Regions from separate parts of the Homo sapiens genome. Here region 1 is linked to region 2. The links are contacts of gene promoters, found by promoter capture Hi-C in human tissues and cell types (Jung and others, 2019). All regions are on one chromosome and are shown on one strand. The core of a region is centred on a gene start or on the middle of the fragment in contact, and the rest is flanking DNA. Distances in the headings are between cores, read along the strand shown. Region 1 has its middle 14 kb from the start of CXCL11. Region 2 holds the start of CXCL9 (C-X-C motif chemokine ligand 9).

Region 1 (2,706 bases), core at 68-2,567, 42 kb before region 2:
GTACTATACTACTGTACTTTTGAGAGGTGACAGTGTGCTGGCAGTCCTCACAGCCCTCGCTTGCTCTCGGCACCTCCTCTGCCTGGGCTCCCACTTTGGCGGCACTTGAGGAGCCCTTCAGCCCACTGCTGCACTGTGGGAGCCCCTTTCTGGGCTGGCCAAGGCCGGAGCCGGCTCCCTCAGCTTGCAGGGAGGTGTGGAGGGACAGGCGCCAGCGGGAACCAGGGCTGCGCGTGGGCTTGCAGGCCAGCTGGAGTTCCGGGTAGGCGTGGGCTTGGCGGGCCCCGCACTCGGAGCAGCCCGCCGGCCCTGCCGGCCCCAGGCAATGAGGGGCTTAGCACCCGGGCTAGCAGCTGCGGAGGGTGTACTGGGTCCCCCAGCAGTGCCAGCCCACTGGCACTGCGCTCCATTTCTCATCGGGCCTTAGCTGCCTTCCTGCGGGGCAGGGCTCAGGACCTGCAGCCCGCCATGCCTGAGCCTCCCACCCCCTCCATGGGCTCCTGTGTGGCCCGAGCCTCCGCGACAAGTGCCACCCCCTGCTCCACGGTGCCCAGTCCCATCGACCACCCAAGGGCTGAGGAGTGCGGGCACACAGCACCGGGACTGGCAGGCAGCTCCACCTGCAGCCCTGGTGCGGGATCCACTGCGTGAAGCCAGCTGGGCTCCTGAGTCTGGTGGGAACATGGAGAACTTTTATGTCTAGCTCAGGGATTGCAAATACACCAATCGGCCCTCTGTATCTAGCTCAAGGTTTGTAAATACACCAATCAGCACCCTGTGTCTAGCTCAGGGTTTGTGAATGCACCAATTGACACTCCGTATCTAGCTATTCTGGTGGGGCCCTGGAGAACCTTTGTGTCGACACTCTGTATCTAGCTAATCTGGTGGGGATGTGGAGAACCTTTGTGTCTAGCTCAGGGATTGTAAACCCACCTATCAGCGCCCTGTCAAAACAGACCACTCAGCTCTACCAATTAGCAGGACGTGGGTGGGGCCAGATAAGAGAATAAAAGCAGGCTGCCCGAGCCAGCAGTGGCAACCCGCTCAGGTCCCCTTCCACACTGTGGAAGCTTTGTTCTTTCACTCTTTGCAATAAATCTTGCTGCTGCTCACTCTTTGGGTCCACACTGCTTTTATGAGCTGTAACACTCACCGCGAAAGTCTGCAGCTTCACTCCTGAGCCAGTGAGACCATAAGCCCACCGGGAGGAACGAACAACTCCAGACGCGCCGCCTTAAGAGCTGTAACACTCACCGCTAAGGTCTGCAGCTTCACTCCTGAGCCAGTGAGACCACGAACCCACCAGAAGGAACAAACTCCGAACACATCCAAACATCAGAAGGAACAAACTCCAGACGCGCCACCTTAAGAGCTGTAACACTCACCGTGAGGGTCCGCGGCTTCATTCTTGAAGTCAGCGAGACCAAGAACCCACCAATTCCGGACACATCTTGGCAACCACGAAGGGACTTTCGCCTATCGCCGAGCGGTAAGACCATCGCCTATCGCCGAGCGGTGAGACAATCGCCTATCGCCAAGCAGTGAGTACCATCAGACCCCTTTCGCTTGCTATTCTGTCCTATTTTTCCTTAAAATTTCGGGGGCTAAATACCGGGCACCTGTCGGCCAGTTAAAAGAGACTAGTGAGGCTGCCGGACTAAAGACATGGGTGTCAGGCTGTCTGGGAAAGGGCTCTCTAACAACCCCTGACTCTTTGGAGTTGGGACCGTTGGTTTGCCTAGAACCAGCTTCCGCTTTTCCTGTACTTCTGGGCTGAGCCGAGGGTCGACAGAGAGGAAAGCCATGCAGCTCCAAGGTCCCGACAACATGTTGGCTGACCCTGCGGCCATGAGCGGCACTCTCAAAAGCATGTCGCCCAAGAAAGACTCACCCATCTATCCTATCTATCCTGACCCTTGCCGCCTGGGTCCTAATGCCTGCCAGACAAACTTCCTCTCGCCTGTCTTCTCTGAGGTTAGACCCACTTCTAAAAATTGCTACCTGTCCCTGGTGCTTTTCTAGTTTCTCCTATAAGAATGATTTATAGTATAAACTCCAGGACTCTGTTACCTTCTTTAGGCACCCAGGCTCACCAATCAGAAAGACATGATTTTTGCCCAAAGCCCCGTCATAGTGGGGACTACCTGGAATTTTAGGATCCCTCCTGAGACTAACAGGCCTAACAAAAGCTATTCCTGAAGCTAGGATATGGGGAGCCTCAGAAATTGTATCCTTCCTATTCATATAAGTGAGGAAAAAGGTGTCACTCTTCCAACCCTGAAGATCCCTTCCCTCCCTCAGGGTATGGCCCTCCACTTCATTTTTGGGGCATAAGATCTTTATAGGACAGGGGTAAAGTCCCAATACTAACAGGAGAATGCTTAGGACTCTAACAGGTTTTTGAGAATGCATCATAAGGGCCACTAAATCCGATTTTTTGTGGTCGGTCCTCCTTGTGGTCTAGGAAGACAGGCAAGGGTGCAGGTTTTCGAGAATGCATTGGTAAGGACCACTAAATCCGACCTTCCTCAGTCCTCCATGTGGTCTGGGAGGAAAACTAGTGTTTCCGCTGCTGCGTCAGTGAGCACAACTATTCTGATCAGCAGGGTCCAGAGACTGTTGCGGGTTCTTGGGCAGGGGTTGTTTCTGCTGCTGCATCGGTGAGCGCAACTATTCCAATCAGCAGGGTCCAGGGACCGTTGTGGG
Region 2 (2,917 bases), core at 272-2,771:
CTGCACCCTATTTGTAGTCTTTTATCCCTCACCCCGCTCCCACTCTTCTCCACAAGTCCCCAAACTCCATTGTATCATTCTTATGCCTTTGTGTCCTCATAGCTTAGCTCCCACATACCAGTGAGAACAGATGATGATTGGTTTTCCATTCCTGAGTTACTTCACTTAGAATAATAGTCTCCAATCTCATCCAGGTCACTGCTAATGCCGTTAATTCATTCCTTTTTGTGACTGAGTAGTATTCGATTGTGTATATATAAACCACAGTTTCTTTATTCACTCATTGATTGATGGGCATTTGGGTTGGTTCCATGATTTTGCAATTGTGAATTGTGCTGCTATAAACATGCATGTGCAAGTACATTTTTCAAATAATGACTTCTTTTCCTCTGGGTAGATACCCAGTAGTGGGATTGCTGGATAAAATGGTAATTCTGCTTTTTAGTTCTTTAAGGAATCTCCACACTGTTTTCCATAGCGGCTGTGCTAGTTTACATTCCCACCAGCAGTGTAGAAGTGTTCCCTGATCACCAAGTCCACACCAACATCTGCTGTTTTTTGATTTTTTGATTATGGCCATTCTTGCAGGTGTAAGGTGGTATCACACCGTGGTTTTGATTTGCATTTCCCTGATCATTAGTGATGAGCATTTTTTCATATGTTTGTTGGCTATTCGTGTATCTTCTTTTGAGAATTGTATATTGATGTCCTTAGCCCACTTTTTAATGGGATTGTTTGTTTTTTACTTAATGATTTGTTTGAATTCATTCTAGATTCTGGATATTAGTCCTTTGTCAGGTATATAGATTGTGAAGATTTTCTCCCACTCTGTGGGTTGTCTGTTTACTCTGCTGACTGTTCCTTTTGCTGTGCAAAAGCTCTTTAATTAGGTCCCAGCTATTTATCTTCATTTTTATTGCATTTCTTAGCCACTGTTAATTTGGGTCTCTTACATGCAACTGACCCCTTATTCTAACCAATTTATTAGTTTAAAAAATAATACTGTAGCAGGAATGATACAGAATGAGCTTACCACTAGTAGAAAATGACCTGGTCCCAGAGGAAATTAAGGTGCTTTAAGTTGTTAAGTGGGCAATATAAGAAAATATCAATGTAGCCATCTATTATACAGAAGAATATGCCATAAATAGTAAGGGAATTTGAAAAGTATATTATTTATCTGGACTTTAATATTTCCCATCTGGAAACCACATCTCCAACCTTTGTTGTATAACATTAGTATATTCATTATATAACCTATTCTTCACACAGGTGAGCAACTGTGAATGTGCCAAAGGCTATCAGTGTTGCTAGTTTCACATCCCTTACTATAAACCACCCATTTATGTGAAATGGAAATAAAAACATGCAGAAATTCCCTTGGATCTGAGACTAGGGTTTCCCCCAGCACAATCAAGTTTGTGGTCAATTTAGTTAGCTCAGCTAAAGATACTAGCCAATCAGAGTTTAGGAGAGAAATGAATATCCTAAATAAATATGATCCCCAAAATGTGTTCTCTAAAGAATTTCTCAGGCTCAAAATCCAATACAGGAGTGACTTGGAACTCCATTCTATCACTATGAAGAAAAGTGGTGTTCTTTTCCTCTTGGGCATCATCTTGCTGGTTCTGATTGGAGTGCAAGGTAAGGGGTTCTGAGTTAGGTTGTAAAGTAAGAGAAGTGATTCACTGTAAAAGAATCTTGATTAGCCAGATAAAGGTGAATGTTCTGCCTGCATTGAAGAGTAATATTTGGTCAGTCATAAAAGCTTCTCAGTGACATGACCAGTTATCCAAAGTTCATAACTTCGATCTGCCAAGTCAAACACAAGTCTTTGTAGTCTAGGTGTATGAATTCCTAGTAAGTGTTCAATAAATGTTCATTGAACTGGGTAATAATGAGAACTCTATCTCCTAAATTATTTTCTTCTCCCTGATACTGTTTTTTGCTAAGTATATCTGTGGCTAACCAATTAAGGATCCAACCAATAATCAGAGAATTTGTCCCTAATCTATTTACTAACTATCTTTGTTACCTTGGACAAATTACTTAATCTTTCTAGACCTCAGTTTCCTCATCATCTGTAAAATAGAACTTTGTAGTTATACCTTTTCTGACTGCTACACAATGTATGGCATATGGTACAATAAGTACCAAGTAAATATATGAATTTAAGAATTAAGATAATGTATTTTAAGGGGTTTTCAAAAATTTAAAACACTATTGAAAAGCAAGGCAGTGGGGAGGAGAGAGGATGAGGATGAAAGTGGTGATTGGTTACAAAGGAGTGCTTTCTATTCAACACCAACACCAGTTCCATTCCTTAAGGTCAGATAATAAATAATAGATGGTTTAGGAGTTGCTTAAGAAACTGTGATCAGCATAGCATACATGAATTAGTTATCTGTTTGTCTTGTGATAGGCATTTATTAAATATTGTGAAAGTCTCTTTTTCTCCCACGGACTTACGGTGTGGTAGTTAAGAGCAACGCCTTTGGACTCAGAGAGATCTGGGCTAAAACCCTGCCCCTGCTCCCTAAAAGCTGTATGACTTTGTTCTTAATCTTTCTGAACCTTAGTTTCCTTATGTATAAAATAGAGATGATACCTCCTTCAAAGGTTTGTGGTGATTATTTTTAGGCACTCGGTAAATGATAGCAATAATCATGACTCAGTCAAGTGTATCATTTTGATAGATCACCTAAACTGAAACATTGGCCTATACTGATGTGTTCTATCTTTTTCTTTCCCTCAGGAACCCCAGTAGTGAGAAAGGGTCGCTGTTCCTGCATCAGCACCAACCAAGGGACTATCCACCTACAATCCTTGAAAGACCTTAAACAATTTGCCCCAAGCCCTTCCTGCGAGAAAATTGAAATCATGTAAGTAACAACCCAGCTAACATGCATGCACCATA

What was found. The method cuts DNA at HindIII sites, captures the fragments that hold promoters and counts their contacts. A contact is called where the count stands out against the background at its distance.
Region 1: a fragment that was not itself captured here is called in contact with the fragment with the promoter of CXCL9 in region 2 in 1 of the 25 tissues and cell types used here (mesenchymal stem cells).

Annotation. Positions count from the first base shown.
Region 1 is chr4:76,048,535-76,051,240 of GRCh38, reverse strand. It overlaps a transcript of ART3 not described here. Among named protein-coding and RNA genes, the nearest start is that of CXCL11, 14 kb to the right of the region's middle. The HindIII fragment of the contact is 3,429 bases long and covers 1-2,706 here.
Region 2 is chr4:76,006,113-76,009,029 of GRCh38, reverse strand. CXCL9 (C-X-C motif chemokine ligand 9) reads left to right here and starts at 1,521. Exons shown (of 4, transcript NM_002416.3): 1 at 1,521-1,644; 2 at 2,756-2,882. The coding sequence starts at 1,581. The HindIII fragment of the contact is 7,232 bases long and covers 810-2,917 here.